2 separate regions of the Homo sapiens genome follow, and region 2 is linked to region 1. Evidence: promoter capture Hi-C in 16 types of primary human blood cells and fetal thymus (Javierre and others, 2016). All regions are on one chromosome and are shown on one strand. Each heading gives the region's core, a stretch centred on a gene start or on the middle of the fragment in contact. The rest is flanking DNA. Distances are from core to core; before and after follow the strand shown.

The links. The method cuts DNA at HindIII sites, captures the fragments that hold promoters and counts their contacts. A CHiCAGO score of 5 or more calls a contact.
Region 2: a fragment that was not itself captured here is called in contact with the fragment with the promoter of PPIF in region 1 in 1 of 17 cell types (M1 macrophages); the score reaches 5.1 in M1 macrophages.

Annotation. Positions count from the first base shown.
Region 1 is chr10:79,345,779-79,349,833 of GRCh38, forward strand. It overlaps PPIF (peptidylprolyl isomerase F), which reads left to right and starts at 1,691. Exons shown (of 6, transcript NM_005729.4): 1 at 1,691-1,965; 2 at 3,298-3,328; 3 at 3,887-3,975. The coding sequence starts at 1,771. RefSeq lists cis regulatory regions at 1,358-1,935, 1,435-2,476, 1,435-2,108, 1,435-1,986, 1,435-1,985 and 5 more, silencers at 1,465-1,874, 1,895-2,124 and an enhancer at 3,439-3,939. The HindIII fragment of the contact is 8,142 bases long and covers 1,316-4,055 here.
Region 2 is chr10:79,489,923-79,494,047 of GRCh38, forward strand. No RefSeq gene overlaps it. Among named protein-coding and RNA genes, the nearest start is that of EIF5AL1, 21 kb to the right of the region's middle. RefSeq lists an enhancer at 534-593 and a cis regulatory region at 1,158-1,658. The HindIII fragment of the contact is 2,957 bases long and covers 1,294-4,125 here.

The sequences.
Region 1 (4,055 bases), core at 441-2,940:
AGCCTGGGGCCTTAAGGAAGCTTCATGACAAGGCACATGGCGTGATTCCTCCACTCTCAAATCCACAGGATGCACTGGTAGAGGAAGGTCTGGGACATGTGCTGAGGGCTCAAGTGGGCTCCCCACTCAGGCCTGCTCACCTCAGGGCACAATCATAAGAAAGGAGGGGCTGCTCCCCAGGGCAGAGTGAGGCCCCATTCTGGGCTGGGACCTGGAATGCATCCCACCTGGGCTTCACTGGGTGCCTAGGCCCCTCCTAGGCCAGGAATCGGAGAAGGGGGCTATGAACTTCCAGAAGCCAAGCTAGCCAAACTTCCAGAGGCCAAGCTAGCATTCTTATGAAGCTAGGGCACTGCTCTGACCTCATGAATTTGCTTGGCTGGCATTTTGCTGCCTGACCTGTTCCCATGAGCCCATTCAGGATCTGGGGCAGGTCAGTCCAGAGCTGGTCCCTACTCCTGCCCACCTGCCTCCAAGGCTCAGCCCCACCCCTTTCTCTGACCCCTCAGGCCTCTAACTGAGACCGCAGCTCTCTGAATCCCAAACTGTGAGAAAGACAGTCCAGACTCTGTCCATCACAGATGCCCACAGGCACAGTACTTAGTTGACAAATCCATGTCTCTCTCGTTCATTTTATCCTAAGAACAGACACGAGAAAAAAGCAGGATGAGGAGCATGATCGCACCCTTACCCTCCAGATGGGAAACTGAGGCCCAGAGAGGCCTGGAGCACTGGTGCAAGCTGGTAGCAATACTCCAGGGCTCCCTAGCCCTAGCCAGTGCCTTCCTGTGTCCAGGCCTCAGCTTCCCCTGGGGACAGTACAAGTGTTGGGCCAGATGCTCTCTCAGGTCCCTGCGTGGCATCCATTTATTGCAGACCTCCCACCACCTTGCAGTGAGGGTGGCTCTGGCTGCTGGGAAGCCCACTTTCAGCACGTGGGGTTTAAATGCTCCTGCTGTGGGTCTCCCCACTGAGTCCCCTCCCAGGGTGCATGCTGATGGGAGGGGGCAGCTGGCAGTCTGCCCCGGGGCTGTCAGTGTGGGTCCTAGGAGGAGGGATCAGACCCAGTCCTGGGGAGGGCTGGGGGCCTGAAAGGAGCATGATGAGCCCAGGCTGCGTTTTCAGTCTTGCTAGAAGCAGGTCTGGTCCCCAGAAACAACTAGAGACAGGCCCAGGCCGGGACAAGCAGGCTAGGGGGCATCATGGGAGGTGTCTCAGCTTATCTCCTCCCTCTTGCGCCTCTAGCTCACTAATCCCGCCTCTCATCTCACCTTTCTCTAACCCTCTCAGACTGCAGGACCTAGGGCAGCAGGGAAGCTTATTTGGCCTGAGCCTTACCTGCAAAGGGCTCAAAGGTAGACTTTTGCTATTATATTCAAATTGCAACGTATAGATGCTCATATTTTGGAATTAATTACGTTTTAGCAGTTTTTCTTTTTTTAAAAAAATCTGCTGGTACCTTAATAAACATGGAACCAGCAACCTTTTGCCAGGTGTCTGTTCTCCGGGTCTCTGGGCCTGGAGGCGGGAGTGTTTCAAAGCACTTCACGCTCCGCGGCCCCACCGGCTGGCTGCGCTGCCCGCTGCGGCCGGCAGGGGTAGTCCACGGACAGGCCTGGAGGAGGCGGGACGGGGGCAGGGCCGGGAACCTGGGCAAGCCAATAAAGGCTGCGGCGCGCGGCTGCGCGGGACTCGGCCTTCTGGGCGCGCGCGACGTCAGTTTGAGTTCTGTGTTCTCCCCGCCCGTGTCCCGCCCGACCCGCGCCCGCGATGCTGGCGCTGCGCTGCGGCTCCCGCTGGCTCGGCCTGCTCTCCGTCCCGCGCTCCGTGCCGCTGCGCCTCCCCGCGGCCCGCGCCTGCAGCAAGGGCTCCGGCGACCCGTCCTCTTCCTCCTCCTCCGGGAACCCGCTCGTGTACCTGGACGTGGACGCCAACGGGAAGCCGCTCGGCCGCGTGGTGCTGGAGGTGAGACCGCTCGCAGGGCCGGCCTGGGCGCGGGACACGGGCCCGGGGAGAGCCCTGGGCCCCGGGCGGCGCGGTGCCGGGCGCGCTGGGTGACCTTGGGCCTCCCCATGCCGAGCTCTGGGCCTCAGTTTCCCCATTTCTGAGAATGGGCGTCAGAATGATTTCTTCCGGCCTCCCTCGGAGCACTGGAGCGGGGGAGACGGGAGGGAGGGCACGTGTGGAGGAGAAAGCTCAAGGTCAGATCGCAGAGAGGGAGGGCTCAGCACCTCTGGGCCGGCCCGGGCACGAGGGAGGGGCTCCAGGAGCCTTCTGGGGCTGAGCCTAGATCCGGAGCTCCGAGGTGGGTGTCGGGGGTCTTGGGGTGAGCGTCGTGGCCCAGCGGGTGCTCACGTGGCGGCCCTTGCACAACACGGAGCGCTTCCTGGCTCCGGCCCCGCCCCTGCGGTCGGGCTCACACTGGGGGTGCTGGGAAATGGAGCGAGAGGTGGTTTCCAGCAGTAGTGCGGGCCCAGTAGGCCTCAGGCCCCGGCCACCTGGTGGACCCCAGAATGCCCCTCCTGCGAGTCGGGACACACTCAGAGACAGTGTGCCCGGCGCCTCAACCCCTGCCACTGTCCTTGGGGGCCACACTGAGCACCTCCCCTAACTCTGTTTTTGGGTCTTTTCTAAAGCAAAGTAAGAAACAGTCACCAGGGTAGCTTTAGAGGGAAAGCCCTAGTGGAGCCTTCAGGTCGGCCACACATTGACAGCAGGGGTCTGTTTGTGTTGACTGGCCCGTATCCCAGGGAGCCCTTAGTATTTCTTCTTCATTCTCAGTTTCTTCTGGAAAATAGGGACACCCTTCCTGCTTCCATTTGGTTCCAGGGTGGGTCTTGCAGCTTCGAGGGTAGAGGCTGGCTGGGATGGGGCTTCAGCCTTCCCTCCCCACACCCTCATGCCTCTCCCTGGGCCTCAGTTTCCCAACCCCGAATGGAGGAGCTGGTCTGGCTTCTACCTTAGACACACTCTCTTGTCCCTGAATTTCTGATGCTTTGGGCCCAGCTGTGGGAGCACTGCCAGCTGTGTCCACAGAAGTAGGCCAAGATAGCATTGTCATCTCTTCTGACAGATTAGGAAACCAAGGCCACCTCCTCCAGCCTTGGGTTCAGGAAACGGCTCCCAGAAATGATAGAGCTGCCTCCCATGGGGGTTGGCAATAATGGGAATGGAATGTCCACGTGCTTCTTCCTTAGCCTCCTTGGCCACTGTGGGGGTGGGTGGGTGCTGAGAGACACCCACCTTCACCTGCCTCTCCAATGACCATCCTCTTTTGTCCTTCTTCTCCCCCAACAGCTGAAGGCAGATGTCGTCCCAAAGACAGCTGGTAAGACAGGGCCTGGGGCCTTCTGAGATGGGTCTAGAGGGAAGGGGGCCAGGCAGGGCAAGGTGGGTGGCGTGATGAGAAGAGTCGGGGCTCAGAGACCCCTGACAGATGGGAGCTCCATGTGTGGCTCAGCCATTGGGTGCTCTGGGGCAGCCCTGCCATCCCTCTCTGGGCCTCAACGTTGGCTCTGCCCTCCTCTCTCATAGTAGCTGGGAGCCTCAGAGCCAGTGGAAGGCACATGTAAATTTCCCGGAGACTTCCCCACTCCTGGTGCCCAGTGAGGCAGGGTGATGGGCACACAGCCCTTGAGTCCGTGCCCTGCTGGCCAGCACAGCCATGAGCCTGTACTCTTGTCACAGTGCTCAGGTACTGAGGACAGGGAAGGGGAGTGACTTGTCCAGTTACATAGCGAGTTGGGCAGAGCAGACCCAAGAGGTGGGCCAGAGTCTTTATCCCCCTGTTCACTGCTGGGGATGTAGCAGGGATTTTGGCTGGAACGGGTATGACCCTGGAATTGGGGCCTGGCCCTGTTGACCTGTGTTTCTCTTCGACCCTCAGAGAACTTCAGAGCCCTGTGCACTGGTGAGAAGGGCTTCGGCTACAAAGGCTCCACCTTCCACAGGGTGATCCCTTCCTTCATGTGCCAGGTAATGTAGTTTCCTCTTCTGTAAGGGGGGATGAGAGCAGGAGCTGCCTTGTGGGTGTGTGAAGATGCCTGGTATGAGGA
Region 2 (4,125 bases), core at 1,522-4,021, 150 kb after region 1:
GTATTCTTTCTACCTCAGTGATGCAGCCAATGATTGCACTGAGCCTTCAGCAGGCAAACAAGGCTAACCCCATCCCTGGGTTCCGTTCTGGACCTGCCTGGTTCTAATTCTTTGGGCTCTGGATAAAATGAGGCTTCAATATGTAGAGGTAGATTGACCTAGTTCTGGGTTTCCTTCTGTCTTGACACTACTACTAACTTACCGGGTCACTATGGGCAATTTACCTAACCTCTCTGAGCCTGTCTTCTCAAATGAAGGCTAGAAGTAATAAGACCAACTTTGAGATGGCGGTAAGCATCAGGTACAGCACCCAGCACCTCCCTGGTGCCTGGTGGGCCTGTGCAGATGTTATTGCCTTTTATTTTTCCCTCACCCCCATCTCTTTCAGGCTCACAAGATGGAGAAAGGGGAAGGCATTTCTGGAATGAGGCCCCAGTCGGCTCCTGCACCATTGCTCTGTCCCAATCTCTGAGTTTTAGGCCAGCCAGAGGCCCTTCTAGCCCCCCTTCCAGGTCACAGCTGTCTGTTCTCCCTTCCCTTGTCACAGGGGCTGCCCCATGGGGCTGCGAGAGAGGGAGGGGGATTCCAGGCTGCAGATGTCCAGGACTCAGAGAAGTCTGCAGAGCTAATCCTGGGGCTGCTGGCGAGGCCAGGCCAGGGCCTTAGAAGTGGCTTTCAAGAGGTCCTCTCCTGCCTGCCGGCAGCGTGTGGCTCAGCTCGAATTTCCGAGGCCCCCAACTCAGGAACAGCTGCGTGGCTTCCCCTCTCCTCCCTCTGTTCCCTCCTTTCTTCCCCATACATGAGTCAAAGAGACAGCCAGGCAGGGCTAGCCAGGGGTCTGGACAGAATCCAGAAGTCTCCAGCCACTCAACCCTGGTCTCTCTGAAGCCTGGGGAGCTCAGACACCTGGGGTTTCTTGGGCCTTTCAACTCCAGACATATTCCTGCTGCTCTTCATTTGGCCAAAAACCTCTGGCCCAGCTTTGATGTTTGCCTTTTTGTCCACCCCTTGGTTCTCTGGCTGGGCAGGCTTCCTGGGACACCTTCTACCCAGTGTGGTGGGGCGGGACCTGCCTTGGGGTGGAGCCTCCTAGTTTGGTAGTACGCCCACCCACAAGCCTTCCCAGCCTCCTCCTTCCCCCAGGTCCCTAAATGTCCCTTCCAACTGCCTCCCAGAGCAACAACCTCTGACTCTCCTTTCCATGTCCCTATCAACATCTCCACACCCACCCCAGGGAAAGGCGAGAGAGAGAGTGTGTGTGTGTGTTACACGTGTAATGCTTGTTACATGAAAAGCTTGTTTGGTTATATCCTTAACTATCTTGCTGGGTTTTTTTTGACAAATAAGGAAACAAGAGCCAGACAGGGTGGGAAATTTGACTGGTTCACAGAAAGAGGAAATGGTAAAGCCAGGATTTAAACCCAGTTGTGATGATTCTGAGCCCATGCTCTTTCTTCACGCCACCATGTGGCCTGGAAAAGACCTGCCACACACCTGCCCAGGAGCATGCAGGGAGTGAGTGATTCACCCCCTGCCCCAGATACAAGCGGCCCATGACCAGGGACTCAGGCCACTTCCACAGAACACGCTTGGTCCAGAGTGACAGTGAGGAGAGAATGACTTGGCTGGTGCAGGAGACCCCCATGCTAGTTCCTCTTGGTGATGGGTCCCCAGGGTGAGGCATGAATCTGCTCCCGCTGGGCCTCCAGTCTCCCTCACAGTACAAGTTCATTTAGGTGCTGGGAGTGACCCTGGGGGAACAGATGGTGCTGCATGATCATACATGATCCTGAAACACAAGCCAGCTACTCCTTCTGGTGTCCACCAAAGAAACAGGGATCCAAGCCAAGCTGGGGGGAAAATCTGCCCTTGCAGGTTTACTGAGGGACTGTATGGGGAATTCTACTAGGTGTCTCCTAAGATACTTTTTTTTTGAGACAAGGTCTCTGTCTGTCACCCAGGCTGGAATGCAGTGGTGTGATCTCAGGTCACTGCAGCCTCAAACTACTGGGCTTAAGCAATCCACCCATTTCAGCCTCCTGAGTAGCTGGGACTACAGGTGGGTACCAACATGGCTGGCTAATTTTTGTATTTTTTGTGGAGTTGGGGTTTCAACATGTTTCCCAGGATGGTCTTGAACTCCTGAGCCCAAGCATCATGCCCACCTCGGCCTCCCACAGTGCTGGGATGACAGGCCTGAGCAGCCGGCCCAAAGATACCTTCAGGGGAAAGACTGACTCTACACAGTCCCAACCTTGGGATGATAAACTAACCCCAAACATGGAGTAGTAGGTGGCCCCTTACTCCCAGCAAGTCCTTCTCTAATGGTGAGATTCCAGGACAGGGGAGAAGTCTAGGGAGAGAGACTGGGGACATGCGGCCTTCCGGGACCTCAGTCTCACACCACCGGGTCCTGGGCTCCCTGTTGTCTCTTATCAATCTAGGTTTCCAGCGTGGTGCAGTGAAGGAGTGTGTGACCCAGGCCCCAGCCGCACTCTGCAATGACACCATGGGCAAGTCCCTTAAACCCGCTCCAGACCTCAGTTTCCTCATCTGTCAGCTGAGACTACTGGACAAATGACCAGATGAAGTTCTAGAGCCCTGGAGGACTCTGTCTGGGCTGGAGACAGCTCAAGACCCTGCCCAGGAAGCAGAATGGCTTCTAGTGCTGGCTACATCTGGCCTGAGGCTGCTTGCTTATGGTTTGGGACTGGTTACCAGATCTGCTTCCAGGGATGGTGTCATCGCCTCATTTTATAGGTGAGAAAAACCCCTTTGTTTCCCGAGGGTCCTGTGCAGCCTTCCCTGCCCCTCCAGCTCCTACTACCTCTACCTTCTGTCTGTCCCTCTGTTCTGAAGCTCCTGTGTTCTGTCCTTGTCCTACTCAGGCCTGCTCTTCTCTGAGGCCACAGGCTCAGGGCTCTGCAGGCCTCTTCATCATGTCCCAGGAGCCCCAACCCTCAAACAACTGCCCATTTCCCTTTCCTCTGTGTCAAAACTCCATGTTTCGGCCTGCAATTGTCACAGGCCCAATGGACCTTTCACACCAGCTGGCTGAGCTTGAACAGGTCACTTGAGCCCAGAGCCTGGACACGTGTGAAACAAAGACTGCAATAATCTCACAGTGACTGGAGCAGCTGTCTCACACTGGGTGCTTACTGAGACAGGCTGGACACCATGTCCTCACCATCAGCCCATGAAATGAGAGCCATCTCTCTCCCATGTCGAGCTTGAGAATGTGCCTGCCTGACAGAGGTGTAGGACTGCCTCAGCAAGGGCATAGTATACAATAGGTGCTTAATAAATGGGGACAATTGTGTTAAGATTTGTGGAACCCCAGGGGCAGTGGCTCAGCATCAGGTGGTTTAAAAACCCTCTGCCAGGTCAAGGCTGGCCTGGAATTGAAGGAGGATAGCAGAGGAGGGTGTTTGGTGGGCCCTGCAGTGGGAAGCTAGAGGTGGCCAAGGCTGGGGAGGTGGGCGGTGCAGGTACCCTGCGCCTACTGCATTAGCCCCATTTTTAAAAATTGAGATCACATTACAAATAATTAGCCATTTGATGAGTGGCATTTAGTATATTGACACTGCTGTCAACCTCTGTGCAACCTCTATTTAGTTCCAAAACGTTTTTCACCACCTGAAAAGGAAACCGCAGAGGCATTAAGCAGTCACTCCCCATTCTCCTGTCCCCACAGCCCCTGGCCATTGCTCAATCTGTTTTCTATCTCTATGGATTTACCTGTTCTAGGTGTTTCATACACATGGAATCACACACTACATGACTTCTTGAGTCCGGCTTCTTACACGTAGCGTCGCATTTTCAAGGTTCCTCCTTGTAGCCCAGGTCAGTACTTCATTCCTTTTTATGGCTGAATAACATGTCATTGTATGGACAGACCACATCTTGTTTGTCCATTCATCCACTGATGGACATTTGGGCTGTTCCATCGTGGGCTCCTTTTTGAAGTGAAAGTCATTGAAAGCCTGGAGTAAGTCCTGCTATCACCACTCACCCCTTGGGAGGAGGCACAGCCCCATCCAGAGTCCTCTTCCCATAAAGTGTCCTCTCCTGGCAGCTTCTGTGGCTGCCATGGTGCTCACTGGAGCAGCTGCTGGACAGGGAAGT